5 separate regions of the Homo sapiens genome follow, and regions 1, 2, 3 and 5 are each linked to region 4. Evidence: promoter capture Hi-C in 16 types of primary human blood cells and fetal thymus (Javierre and others, 2016). All regions are on one chromosome and are shown on one strand. Each heading gives the region's core, a stretch centred on a gene start or on the middle of the fragment in contact. The rest is flanking DNA. Distances are from core to core; before and after follow the strand shown.

The links. The method cuts DNA at HindIII sites, captures the fragments that hold promoters and counts their contacts. A CHiCAGO score of 5 or more calls a contact.
Region 1: a fragment that was not itself captured here is called in contact with the fragment with the promoter of CD2AP in region 4 in 1 of 17 cell types (non-activated CD4 T cells); the score reaches 7.7 in non-activated CD4 T cells.
Region 2: the fragment with the promoter of C6orf52 here is called in contact with the fragment with the promoter of CD2AP in region 4 in 1 of 17 cell types (total CD4 T cells); the score reaches 10.2 in total CD4 T cells.
Region 3: the fragment with the promoter of SOX4 here is called in contact with the fragment with the promoter of CD2AP in region 4 in 5 of 17 cell types (activated CD4 T cells, total CD8 T cells, total B cells and 2 more); the score reaches 15.0 in activated CD4 T cells.
Region 5: a contact is called between the fragment with the promoter of SNRNP48 here and the fragment with the promoter of CD2AP in region 4, in 2 of 17 cell types (non-activated CD4 T cells and total CD4 T cells). The highest score is 14.7, in non-activated CD4 T cells.

Annotation. Positions count from the first base shown.
Region 1 is chr6:11,540,185-11,542,884 of GRCh38, forward strand. All of the region lies in intron 1 of TMEM170B (transmembrane protein 170B), which reads left to right. Among named protein-coding and RNA genes, the nearest start is that of TMEM170B, 3.8 kb to the left of the region's middle. The HindIII fragment of the contact is 542 bases long and covers 1,014-1,555 here.
Region 2 is chr6:10,693,194-10,695,893 of GRCh38, forward strand. C6orf52 (chromosome 6 open reading frame 52) reads right to left here and starts at 1,423. Exons shown (of 5, transcript NM_001145020.3): 1 at 1,301-1,423. PAK1IP1 (PAK1 interacting protein 1) reads left to right here and starts at 1,779. Exons shown (of 10, transcript NM_017906.3): 1 at 1,779-1,876. The coding sequence starts at 1,793. RefSeq lists enhancers at 1,337-1,386, 1,395-1,997, 1,427-1,806. The HindIII fragment of the contact is 16,030 bases long and covers 1-2,700 here.
Region 3 is chr6:21,592,372-21,595,071 of GRCh38, forward strand. SOX4 (SRY-box transcription factor 4) reads left to right here and starts at 1,380. Exons shown (of 1, transcript NM_003107.3): 1 at 1,380-2,700. The coding sequence starts at 2,164. RefSeq lists a silencer at 1,991-2,170. The HindIII fragment of the contact is 853 bases long and covers 954-1,806 here.
Region 4 is chr6:47,476,429-47,479,128 of GRCh38, forward strand. It overlaps CD2AP (CD2 associated protein), which reads left to right and starts at 1,361. Exons shown (of 18, transcript NM_012120.3): 1 at 1,361-1,820. The coding sequence starts at 1,817. CD2AP-DT (CD2AP divergent transcript) reads right to left here and starts at 1,644. Exons shown (of 1, transcript NR_187257.1): 1 at 815-1,644. RefSeq lists a silencer at 1,123-1,632 and an enhancer at 1,919-2,645. The HindIII fragment of the contact is 1,754 bases long and covers 592-2,345 here.
Region 5 is chr6:7,588,801-7,591,500 of GRCh38, forward strand. It overlaps SNRNP48 (small nuclear ribonucleoprotein U11/U12 subunit 48), which reads left to right and starts at 1,398. Exons shown (of 9, transcript NM_152551.4): 1 at 1,398-1,613. The coding sequence starts at 1,458. RefSeq lists enhancers at 1,155-1,894, 1,473-1,622. The HindIII fragment of the contact is 5,411 bases long and covers 166-2,700 here.

The DNA of each region.
Region 1 (2,700 bases), core at 35-2,534, about 36 Mb before region 4:
TCTTAAAACAGCAATGAAGTTTGCCACTAAGGAAGAGCAATAGACTCTTCCTTTCATGAAAGATTTCTCTGTAGCATGGGATGCTGTTGGGTAGCATTTTATCCACAGTAGAACTTTCAAAATTGGAGTCAGTCCTTTCAAACCCTGCTGCGGCTTTATCAACCGAGTTTATCTAATAGTCTAAATCCTTTGTTGTCATTTCCACGGTGTTCACATGATCTTCACCAGGAGTAGATTGCATCTCAAGAAACCACTTTCTTTGCTCATCCATAAGAAGCAACTCCTCATCCATTCAAACTTTATCATGAGATTGCAACAATTCAGTCACATCTTCAGGCTCCACTTCTAATTCTAGTTCTCTTGCTATTTCGACCACACCTATGGTTACTTCCTCCACTAAAGTGTTGATCCCCTCAAAGTCATCCATGAGGAATGGAGTCAATTGCTTTCCAACTCCTATGAAAGTTGATATTTGGACCTCTTCTCATGAGTCACGATTGTTCTTAAGGGCATCTGGAATGGTGACTCCTTTCCAGAAGGTTTTCAATTTCCTTTGCCCAGGTCCATCAGAGGAATCACTATCTCTGGCAGTTTTAGCCTTCTTACACAGTGTATTTCTTAAATAATAAGACTAGAAAGTCAAAATTACTCTTTGATCCATGGTCTGCAGAATGGATGTTGTGTTAGCAGTCATGAAAACAACATTGATCTACTTGGACATCTCCATCACAGCTCTTGGTTGACCAGGTACATTGTCATTGAAGAAAATACTCATTAAAATGAAAGGAATCTTTTTTTTTTCTGAGCAGTTCTCAACAGTGGGCTTCACATATTCAGTAGGCCGTGCTGTAAACTGATGTACTGTCATCCAGGCTTTTTTGTTTCATTTATAGAGCACAGCCAGGGTAGATTTAGCATAATTCTCAAGGGCGCCAGAATGGTAAATGAGCATTGGCTTTAATATAAAGTCACCAGCTGCATTAGCTCCTAAGAAGAGTCAGCCTGTCCTTTGAAGCTTGGAAGTCAGGGATTGACTTCTCTCTAGCTGTGCAAGTCCTAAATGGCATCTTCTTCTGATATAAGGCTGTTTAATCTACATGGAATATCTGTTGTTTGGGGTAGCCACCTTCATCAGTTAGCTAGATCTTCTGGATAATTTGTGCTTCTACATCAGCATTTGCTGCTTCACCTTGCACTTTTATGTTATAGAGGTGTCTTTTGTTAAACCTAAAGAACTGACATCTGCTAGTATCAAACTTTCTTTTGCAGCTTTCTCACATCCCAGCCTGCATGGAATTGAAGAGAGTTGGGGTCTTTCTCTGGGTTAGGCTTTGGCTTAGGGGAGTGTTGTAGCTGGTTTCATCTTCTATTTAGACCACTCAAACTTTCTTCATATCAGAGAGCAGTCTGTTTTGCTTTCTTATGATTTGTGTGTTCACTAGTGTAACACTTTTAATTTCCTTTAAGAATTTTTCTTTGCATTTGCAACTTGGCTGTTTGGTACGAGAGGCCTAGCTTTCAGCCTAACTCATCTTTGAACGTGCCTTCCTCATTAAGCTTTATCATCTCTAGCACTTGATTTAAAGTGAGATATCTGACTCTTTTTTTCACTTGAACACTCAGAGGCCAATGTAGGATTATTAGTTGGCCTGATTTCAATATTGTTGTATCTCAGGGAATAGGGAAACCCGAGGAGAGGGAGAGAGACTGAGGAATGGCTGGTTGGTGGAGCAGTGAGAACACACAAGATTTATCGAGTAAATTATCGAGTAAAATAGTAACATCAGAGATCACTTATCACAGATCACTATAATAATAAAATACAATAATAAAATAATAATAAGATAATAAAATTTGAAATATTGTTAGAATTACCAAAATGTGACACAAAGTGAGCCCATGCTGTTGGAAAAATGGTACTGATAGACTTGCTTGACACAGAGTTGCCTCAAACTTACCATTTGTAAAAGCCAAAATAAAGTGAAGTACAATAAAACAAGGTATGCCTGTAGATATTAATCACTGGATTAGCTCATCAAAGGGTTTTTAGAGAAAGTTAGCTTTGGGAGCCATAGAGTAAATGTAAATGTAACTTAACTCCTGGCCAGCTTCAACAATATTTTTAAATAAGTAAGATTCTAATGATTATAATTGCCTCCAGTTCTGCAAGTCAACCATTAAGCTGATAATAGTAGTTATTCATCCAGGGTTAGCTCCAATATGTCTTTCAATATGATCTTAATACTTGCCAGTTGCTCATTGGACCTTGCCATTTCATAAAGGATATGCCGAACATCCCAAACTAGGACTGAGGCGGGACTGAGGACCATGGGAACCTCTACTAGGAAATAACTACTGTCTGAATATGTGAAATTCTAGGCGTCAGGATAAAAATGCAGAAAGAAACAGATTAGAAATATGTTTCACTAGTGGTAGAGTGTACCACGTTAGGAACCACATCTCTTCTCAACAGTGGCAGTCTATAAGTGATAATATTCTGATGGGATTCATTGTGGCCTTCTCCATGCCAGTGACCTTAGTGATTTGGTGTGTATCTTAATCATTAGTTAACAGATGCTGCCTACAGTGCCATTTACAACTTTGTCTGCTCAAAAGAGGCGAGTAAACACAACTTCTGAAACATCTGTCATTTGTTGAATGGCCGCTGTGTGTTAGGCACTTTACATATATTATTTCTAA
Region 2 (2,700 bases), core at 173-2,672, about 37 Mb before region 4:
ACGGATGCAGGACACAGCAGTAAGGACAACCCAAAGGCGTAAGGGACAAATATGTCTGCTTTTCCTTTGTTCAGGAGTGCTCTCACCATCGTTCCATCTGCAATTGAGCACCCTTTCTGCATAAAGTAAAAATTGCCTTGCTGAGAGATCTTTTGTCTCCATGCTGACTTTTCTTCGTGTCACCAATTATCTATTTCTAACAATAACAAGGTCTTTTCTGCACTGCAGTGACAACCAAAGCATCCCAAATGAAATCATTTCTGCAAGACCCAAACTAGCCTCTATTAACACGTACTAACAATTCAGAACACCAGAGAAGAAAAGTTATTGGAAACAAAAGGGTCTAAGCGCTGAAGCACTGTATCGCACTTGAAATGGAGGCTGAAGATTTGAGAAGGATGGACTATGCATCTTGTTTACCAAATGACCTACTACGGTGTTTATGAGAACTATACGAACCAAGATTTACTCTGTTGGGAGCTTGTAGGAAAGCTGTAATGTCTAAGACATACCTGAATCTCTAAACCTTATTAAATAAAACTTTTTTTTTCTTTGAAAGGGGGCCTGGCTCGTCCCCCAGACTGGAATGCAGTGGAGCGATCTCGGCTCACTGCAGCCTCGACCTCCTGGGCTCAAGCAATCCTCCCACCTCAGCCTTCCGAGTTGCTGAGGCCACAGGCGGGCGTCGCCATGCTGGGCTAATTTATAACATTTTTGTAGAGACGGCATCAAAATATGTTGCTCAGGCTCACTTTGTTTTCCCAACTCTCAAATGAAGGCTCTGGCCGGGCGCTGTGGCTCACGCCTGCAATCCCAGCAACTTTGGGAGGTCGAGGCAAGCGGATCACCTGCGGTCGGGAGTTCAAAACCAGCCTAGCCAACATGGAGAAACCCTGTCTCTACTAAAAAATACAAAATTAGCCAGGCGTGGTGGCGTATGCCTGTAATCCCAGCTACTCGGGAGGCTGAGGCAGGAGAATTGCTTGAACCCGGGAGGCAGAGGTTGCGGTGAGCCGAAATCGCGCCACCGGACTCCAGCCTGGGCAAAAAGAGCGAAACTCCGTCTCAAAAAAAAAAAAAAAAAAATGAAGGCTCACTGCTCCCTCCCCAGGAGGTGCCGCAACCTTGGCCAATACAGCCCCAGAGTTAGACAAGCAGACAGAGAAAGTGTGCAGGGCTGGGGTTCTGGCCCGGGCAGACGGGAACGCGGACACATCTAGCACTCCGAGTCCGTCAAGGCAGCGCGAGCGCTGCGCCGCTGGAACAAGTCACCGCGAACCCTAATCCCACCCCTCCTTACCCTATTAACGACAGAAAGCCTCGTTCCGCTGGTCCCTGAACAAAAACTCCTACCCTACTAGTACACAGCCCACAACAATGCACGCTGCCGGCGCTACAGCCCCTAAGCAACCGGCCGGAAGTCGGCCCCACCTCCTCCTGATGTCACGGAAATGAAGGGCTTCGCAGAGGATGTCCCGCCCGCTCCCTTCAGACGGGCGTAGCTGGCACCTTCCTGAGATATGCCTGCTTGCCCCCGATTTTTTTCTCCTTGCAGTGAGAACCTCCTCATGTGGCATCTTTACTTATTCTCTTCTTGGAAAATCCATGTGACCTCCCCGCGCTTAAAGTGTTTCCACGTTACAGGCGACTTAAAGGCAGCCCTGGAGCCTGACGTATAATTCGAGCGCCGATGCAGAAAGGAGTCAGGTGTTTTTTTTTTTTTTTTTTTGGTTTCCGGTTCTGTCACCTCCAGGCTGAGCCGGGCTGGCGGAAGAGGCACGTGCGCTGCTGAATGGAGCTGGTCGCTGGTTGCTACGAGCAGGTCCTCTTTGGGTTCGCTGTACACCCGGAGCCCGAGGCTTGCGGCGACCACGAGGTGAGATACCGCGTAGTTAGAGACAGTCGGAGGCGGGGCCGGGAAGGTCGGGTTTGGTTCCTACACAGCAGAGGTGAACATTGGAGCGCCTGCTGTTCACTGGATGATTTGATGAATCAAACCTAAGAGACTTAAGAGAAAAGCTAACCTTTTAAACCGTAGAATGGACATTTTATCAAAATGAGGCAATATCTGCCTTTTCTAGTAGACAAAAGGTCCACGGGACACAAAGGAAACCGGCATTTCTGCATACGGACAAATGAGTCGTAGATTGTGGATTTAAGGATCGATCCCATAAGTTGACAGTATTCAGAATTTAATGAAAGAAGATCTCGCTCTTTTGCTGAATTTCTGCCCTGGAATTTTACAAATTACTAGAACTAGATTAGGATAAATCCCTTATAGGTAAAGCGATACCAATTCATTATTTGTTGGGAACTTATGGCGAGCTGGGCGGTGGAGATGCAAAGATGCTGGAGGTATGGATCTTGCCTTAGAGACGTTGCCTACATAAGGGGTGGAGGACTGAGGAGACGCATAGATGGAGAGAAATTACAGCAGAATATGATATTACTAGATGTGTGAATAGATAAAAAGGTCAAATAAATTATCAGTAGTCAAATAGGTAGATAGGACTATACTCACGACTAGGAATCCGACCTCCTAACATCTAGCTCACTTTTATTCTTGAAGCAATTCTAAGCATTTTCTAGAAAATTGAGTACAGTACTTCTTTATGAAGTCAAGGCGTCGGTCTTTAATTATCCAGAAAATTTGGAAGTATATCACTTGGCCTATTGCTTTCGTTTATTTTGTTTCCTACT
Region 3 (2,700 bases), core at 130-2,629, about 26 Mb before region 4:
TGAACAACATGCAGCTTTTACTAGGAGTGTGTCTGGCATTTGAATTAGAAAGGAAGATATTAGTATTCATTGAGGGCTTACAATACATCAGGTGCTTCATAGTCACAAATTCATTGAACCCTCACAACAACCCTCTATAAAGTAGCTCCTAGTGTTCCCATATAATAGATGAGGAAAACTGAGACTTGGCCACATCCCCATAGTTACAAACCATTAAGAAGGATTAGCAGCCAGGTCTACTATGAATCCGGAGGCCCCATTCTCTTCTGCTACCAGTTATCACCTCCTTCTACAGTTTCTCTTTGCCTTGGTTTTTCAGTTCCCTTCGATTCAAGTAACAAGAGGAAATATATAAGAAGGAAAGGAGGAAGATGGCTTTGGGAGGAGGAGAGGGAAGAGAGTGAAGCAATCTTTAATTTTGAAAACAGGGAAAACAAATATTTAGAAAGTAAAACCGATTTCCATCCTTTACATGCCATTATACATCCTATACAAAACTCTGGAAATCTGCCTATTGAGGTAATTACGGAGCACTACCTAATGTGTTTCAAGGGAAAGCTCCCCTGTTTGGGCTATGCAGGATTTACAGGGAGTTTAAATCATTAAATAACCATAGTTGACCCTTGCTTGGTTAAGAGAGTAAGCAATTATTGCAAAGTCCTCTTCCCTGCCTTCCACAAACAGCACAAAAACGGTTCTGAAGGGATTTACACAATACATCAACATCTGTGCTGTACCTAGAGTTGTTAAAATAATTGTGATGACAGGTGTCTAGGTACCACTTTCTTAATGGTTTTCAATATCCATTGATTTATTGTTTTGTGGCTTTCTCTTCCCCTTTACAGCTTTGGCTTTAAGAAAGAGCTGGGGAACAGATTTTGCACCAGAGGCTGATTCTTTATTCCAATGCTGAAAAGAACTAATAAAAATAATCACTTGGCTTTTAAGCAGAAAGCTTCCATTTACAGTATTTCACCCTTACCCCGCCCCGTTCCAAGCCCCTTGTTATCTAACATAATGGTTAGAATACATTTCCGTCTCTCCCCTTAATAATTTCATGCATTAACATCCTCTTCACACACTATACACACACGCACGCGCGCACACACACGCGCGCGCACACACACAGCAAAAGGAAAAAAGAGGCAGCAGAAATCTCAGCTGTACTTCTAGCCCTTTTAAAAAGTTTGCTCTGTAAATTGGAATGAGGTCAGATTTGGAGCTTCTCATTGCACGCGGAGATTATTATTGCATCGGGTTCCAAGCCAATGGGAAGCCCGGGGGAGGGGTTTGGCATGAGGAAGCGTTGGTTACAGCAGCTGATTGGCTGCAGCCAAGACTGTGAAAGGATAAAGAGGCGCGAGGCGGAATTGGGGTCTGCTCTAAGCTGCAGCAAGAGAAACTGTGTGTGAGGGGAAGAGGCCTGTTTCGCTGTCGGGTCTCTAGTTCTTGCACGCTCTTTAAGAGTCTGCACTGGAGGAACTCCTGCCATTACCAGCTCCCTTCTTGCAGAAGGGAGGGGGAAACATACATTTATTCATGCCAGTCTGTTGCATGCAGGCTTTTTGGCTTCCTACCTTGCAACAAAATAATTGCACCAACTCCTTAGTGCCGATTCCGCCCACAGAGAGTCCTGGAGCCACAGTCTTTTTTGCTTTGCATTGTAGGAGAGGGACTAAGTGCTAGAGACTATGTCGCTTTCCTGAGCTACCGAGAGCGCTCGTGAACTGGAATCAACTGCTTCAGGGAAAAAGAAAAAAAAAAAAAAAAGACTTGCCTGGGAGGCCGCGAGAAACTTGCATTGGAAGCTTCAGCAACCAGCATTCGAGAAACTCCTCTCTACTTTAGCACGGTCTCCAGACTCAGCCGAGAGACAGCAAACTGCAGCGCGGTGAGAGAGCGAGAGAGAGGGAGAGAGAGACTCTCCAGCCTGGGAACTATAACTCCTCTGCGAGAGGCGGAGAACTCCTTCCCCAAATCTTTTGGGGACTTTTCTCTCTTTACCCACCTCCGCCCCTGCGAGGAGTTGAGGGGCCAGTTCGGCCGCCGCGCGCGTCTTCCCGTTCGGCGTGTGCTTGGCCCGGGGAACCGGGAGGGCCCGGCGATCGCGCGGCGGCCGCCGCGAGGGTGTGAGCGCGCGTGGGCGCCCGCCGAGCCGAGGCCATGGTGCAGCAAACCAACAATGCCGAGAACACGGAAGCGCTGCTGGCCGGCGAGAGCTCGGACTCGGGCGCCGGCCTCGAGCTGGGAATCGCCTCCTCCCCCACGCCCGGCTCCACCGCCTCCACGGGCGGCAAGGCCGACGACCCGAGCTGGTGCAAGACCCCGAGTGGGCACATCAAGCGACCCATGAACGCCTTCATGGTGTGGTCGCAGATCGAGCGGCGCAAGATCATGGAGCAGTCGCCCGACATGCACAACGCCGAGATCTCCAAGCGGCTGGGCAAACGCTGGAAGCTGCTCAAAGACAGCGACAAGATCCCTTTCATTCGAGAGGCGGAGCGGCTGCGCCTCAAGCACATGGCTGACTACCCCGACTACAAGTACCGGCCCAGGAAGAAGGTGAAGTCCGGCAACGCCAACTCCAGCTCCTCGGCCGCCGCCTCCTCCAAGCCGGGGGAGAAGGGAGACAAGGTCGGTGGCAGTGGCGGGGGCGGCCATGGGGGCGGCGGCGGCGGCGGGAGCAGCAACGCGGGGGGA
Region 4 (2,700 bases), core at 111-2,610:
AATCTCTGAGGATTAGCGCTGTACTTTAGCTTTTTATTTTTTTGCTTGGTAGGGGACAACGAACATAATGCTGAACACATATTTGTTACCTAAAAAAGGCACATGTTCCATGATGTCAATGTAATCTTGTTTAGGTGAGTATATTCAACTTTTTTCTTTTATCCTTTTTGGCTGCTGTTTGTGAGTTTGATCATTCTTGTTATAAAATTACCACATGTAACCTTTTGAGAAGCATTAGAAGAATTAAAAGATGGCAAAAGCAGGCCTATAGGAAATAGTGGTAATGGATACGTCCAAGGTTACTACTATGGGCCACTGTGCTCTGCATTGCAAGATTTGTTTGAACATACTCAAGAAATTGAAGTTCAGACAGGTTAATTTATCCAAGGTCCCACAAAAAGTAAATGGCTGTGCTGAGTTTCAAGGACCCATGTCTGCCTGGATCCAAAGGGCAAGTCAGTTTCAGTGCTGGATGACTGAGAATTACAAAATTTCTTGAAAAAGCACTAGGCACAATAGTTGGCGTTCAACAAACGCTCACACACACATCTGCCCTGGAATTGGGTCTACTTAAACAGAAGGGGGAAAAAAAGCTTGCTGAAATAATTATACTTCTTCGTAACTACCAAGCTCATGTTTGACTGACTATAGTAATCCTATGCCCTCCTTCACATTGACGCTAGAAAAAATGCCTGGCAGTATTTCAAATCATGATGCCTATTTTTCTCTCGATCAAGTAACAACTCAAATTATACTTTAAAAAGAAAAAAAGCAAATTATAAAGTTGCATTCAGCTGACAAGAGACTAAAGGAATCTGTGAAACAGAATTTATTTGATGCCTAGGTTTCTCCCTCACCCGACGAAGACCAAATGCTGCTGATCCGTAAGTAACTTCGCAAGGTAAACTGAGGGGCCTGGCAGCATCTGGGCCTCCCTTAAAGGTCGAAATCAAGTGCGCTCGCCCTCCTTCTGTCCGCCTTTTCCCTTTAAGGTCCTCGAGGCTGCTTCGCTGCAGAAAGTAACTCCGCGTCGCCGCCGCGGAAAGTGGGGCAACTTTGCCTATCAGCAGAAACCTTTTGATCCATCTGAGGCGACAAACCAGACCAAACGCCCGCCCAAGCTGTTCCGAGCCTCCGGGGGGAGAGCGAGCCCAAGCTCCTCTGCACCGCTTCCTCATCCGCTCGCTGCACCTGGACGCGGTCGGCGCGCGACCCCCGGCCGTGACGTCACCGCACCTGGCAGCAGCCGTGGGGACCGGGAGAGAGCCCGAACGCGACGGGGCGGGGTGGGGCGGGGAGAACGAGGGCGTTCTCGCGAGATTTGCCTCCTCCCGGTCCCAGCTCCCCGCACCTTCTCGGCCTCTGTCTGGGTCCCCACCTTAGTCTACGGTGTCGCCTTTTCTAACTGCGAGTGCTAAGGAAGAGGCGAGGGGCGGGCTCCGAGGCTAGGCGGGCGCTCGGGGTTGGAGCCGAGGGTCTGGGCAAACCGGTGGGTCCCTCCCCACTGCGGGAGCGGCCAGGGTGGGAAAACCGCGGTCGGGCGGGCGGGGTAGGGCCCTCCCGCCGCCGTGGCTCCTGGGGAGGCCAGGGGTGAGGAGCTGTCGCCGCCTTTGCCTCTGCCTCGAGGGCCGCGCTGAAGAGACTGGTAGGAGAGCGCCGCGGGCGGATGGAGGCGACTCTTCGCCCCGCCTGAGCTCAGGAGGGGCTAGCGCGGAGCGCGGGTCCCGCCTCCAGCCGCGGGAGCGGCCGCGCGAGCCACCACTGGAGGAGGAGGAGGAGGAGCGGACGTCGGCTTCTCCCCGCGGGAGCCCCCAGCATGGGTAAGAGACTCGGGCGCTTCCCGCCGCCCGTCCGGACCTTCCAGACCCGGGGAGGCTGTGCCCTTTCTCGGCCTTCTGGGGAGGCGACTGCGGTCAGCCCCTGAGCGGCAGCACCCCACCCTCTCCATTCTCCCCACCGCCCCTTCTTGCCCTGCCTTCCACCTTGCTCTTCTCACGGAGAAACTGGTGGGAGAGCTCGCGGGTGCTTTCCCTCGCTCTCCCTTCTCCGCCTCTTTTCCTGTTCACCAGAAAGGTGCGGGATGGGGGGCGGGGGCGCCTGGCCACCTCTGCTAACCCCTTGCCCAGCTAAAATCAGACCTGACCTTCCTTCCCTTCCTCATCCCCTTGCTTCCCTCCCCCTCCTCGTGGGATGGGGGAGGGCGATCGAAAAACTTGATAAAGTAGCACTTTCAACTTCTTTATTTTCTGCGAGGCTTTGAATACGTTTAAGGAGAGAGATAAATTTGTTCAAAAACTTTTTTTTTTTCCTGCTGAAACTCGCAAGGGGTGCCTCAAGGACAGGAAAGCTTGAGTATTTGTTTTACTCGGGTTCTACCTAGGCAAGTGTGTTGGCACCTAAGCATTCAGTGTGCTCCCGAGGACTGGGTTTGGACTTCAGTGTTGGATCCTTTGAGGAGCAGTTTCCTGTTTGGAGTTAGACTTCCTTGCCGGAGGAGAGAAAAATACAAGGCCTTATATGTTATTTACTATGTGCTTTATAGTTTTGTTTGAAGTTAGAGAAGGCAGAATGTGTGGCAGTCCGGGTTGAAAAGGAGTTTTGTTAAGTGGTGTAACAATTTCTTTTGATAACAAAGTTCGGTGTGGGCTAGGCATTAAACTAACTCCCTCAATCCTTTAAAAATTAAAAGCAACTTAAGAA
Region 5 (2,700 bases), core at 148-2,647, about 40 Mb before region 4:
CCTTCACATGGGTAAACAAAGTGCAAAAGGAAACCAAGGTTTGACACTTGGGCTTGAAAAAATTTTAAAAAGTAATATAAAATGGGTTAGATTCTAGGAGTTGAAACCATTTGGGGAAACTACAAGGGCTAATTCCAGGTGTTGGGTAGGAAATGTACAAAGTTAAGCTTGTGTTATCAAAGCAAGAAAGCATTCAAGGACTAATAGGGATACATGAAAGACACAGATGGCTTAATGTGGCTTCCACTGGCCACATTTGGGACAATTTGAGCATCAACAAGAATTATGATGTTAAAGGAGTATATTATATTGAATTAAAAAAAAACCTTAAATCAATAACTTTAAAAACACCTTGATTCCCATAGTGAAGCAAACACTAAAATGGAGGTGTGGAAAGAATGCCAGTTAATAAACATAAAAGGCATGATACTATTGCGGAATCACTTATAACTCCTAATGTAACAACAGATTCAGTGAAGGACTGTATCAAGGAGTTGGGGAACAGGTTATTCTTATGGACTCAAGGTATAATCCACAGATTGCTTACCAATTCCTAAGAGGAAAATGTACTATTAGAATGAAGAGATGTAGCCACCACCTTTACCAAGTGATCAAATTTAGCATTACTAATATAACTGAGTTATGCGTCCCCGTGAGTTGGCAACATCTCTTAGGTAGTATTGCAAAAGTGCTCAAACTGAATCTAATCATGAGGGAAACAAAATCTGACAAATCCAGAATGAGAGAGATTCTACAAGACAACTGGCCTAGGCTCATCACAACATGTAATGATTTAATAATTTAAAAAGGAGGGTGAAGGAGGCTGATCTGGATTAAAAGAGACAATAACTAATTATAGCTTATGAGTTGAAAAAATAAAACTGCTATAGAAATAATTTTGGGGACAATGGGGAAATTTGAATATGAACTGTATAATAAATGATTTTATGGACTTACTAATTTTCTTAGGTTTGATCATGTATTGCGGTTACACAGGAAAATGTTCTTATTCTTAGAACATGCATGCTAACATATTTGGGGGTGAAAAATCTGCAACTTACTTTCAAAGAATTCAGCAAAAATCATTGGGTGGGGCTGTGAATGTGGAGAGAAGAGACGGAGAGAAATCAAACCTGGCAAAATGTTAACAATGAGCTGAAGGACGGCTAAACGAAAGCTCATTGTACTATTTTTAAAACTTTTCTGTAGCTATAAGCCGTTTTTTCTGAGGAAGTCGAGGAGGGCGAATATCTTTCTGGAAAGGCCAGAGCAAATGCACGCAAGAGCTGAGAAAAGATTGGAAAACGCCTCTCAAAATAACAGTCCCGCCCTTCCCGGGACTCTTCCCTATAGGCTGTTCAAGTCACGTGGCGACTGTGGCCCCGCCCACAGCTCCCAGAGGCCTGCGCGTGCGGTCTGCAGTTCGGCCGCTTCCTCTTGGCGGGTGGGCTGCAGCTATGGAGGGCGAGCCTCCACCTGTGGAGGAGCGGCGGCGGCTGCAGGAGGAGCTGAACGAGTTCGTGGAGAGCGGCTGCCGGACGTTGGAGGAGGTGACCGCGTCCCTGGGCTGGGACCTAGATAGTCTGGATCCCGGGGAAGAGGAGGCGGCGGAGGTGAGGAGCGCGGCCGCGGGGCCCTTTCGGGGACTATCGGCCCGGGGTCTTCTCTGGAAGAAGGGAGATCCGCACTGGCAGCCGCGGAGGGAAGGGCGAGGAGTCCTCGTCCGTGTGCAGAGCCGCGATGGGCGCCTGGGACCCGAGGGGCGCCGGGGGCCCTGGAGCAACCCTGACGTCCCTGGGTTCCGGGCTGGGGCGCGCGAGGAACTCCCGAAGGCTCCACATCGACCTCCAGTGCGGCGCTCCTCCCGCGCAACTTCGAGTTTAAAGAAAACCGGGGGCCGGGCGCGGTGGCGCACGCCTGTAATCCTAGCACTTTGAGAGGCCAAGGCGGGAGGATCCCTTGAGCCCAGGAGTTCCAGACTAGCCTGGGCAACATGGTGAAACCTCTTCTCTACCAAAAGTACAAAAATTAGCCGGGTGTGGTGGTGTGAGCCTGTGGCCCCAGCTATTTGGGAGGCTGGGGTGGAAGGATAGCTTGAGCCCAGGAGGTCGAGGCTGCAGTGAGCCGAGATCGCTCCACTGCATTCCAGCCTGGGCGACAGAGCAAGACCCTGTCTCAAAAAACAAACAAACAAAATCCAGGAAGGTGTGTTGAGTGAGGAGGGAATGGCAGATTTGGTATTTATTTAGAAAATAAGTGAACGTGTCTCAGAGCGCTGCAGAGGGATTGGCGGTTTGCATTGTCATCTGTCATACGGATTCCGCAGTTGCACCAGATTCGGTGTCAGGAGAGCTGGGAGTTTGCCAGTTCGCCTTTCTGTGCCTTAAAATTGGACACTTCTGACTGGGACAGCACCAATTCTAGGATTATTAAAGGTTGTCACCAAGAGGTGGTAACTGGCAACTCCTGTGGACATTAGAATTGCTTTTTTAAAAATGTAGGCAAGTGTATTTAGAGTGAACATTCGTGATTTTTGTTTTTTTGTGGGGTATTTTCGGTGGAATGAGAGGAAGGGAAGTGCTCCAATGTGGGGTAATTCATTATCTTTACTATTACTTCTGGGTTTACCATGCTGTGATAATTTCTCCTGGGTTTAAGTTACATGACTGATTCCTCAGAGGCATTTAAAATATATTTGAT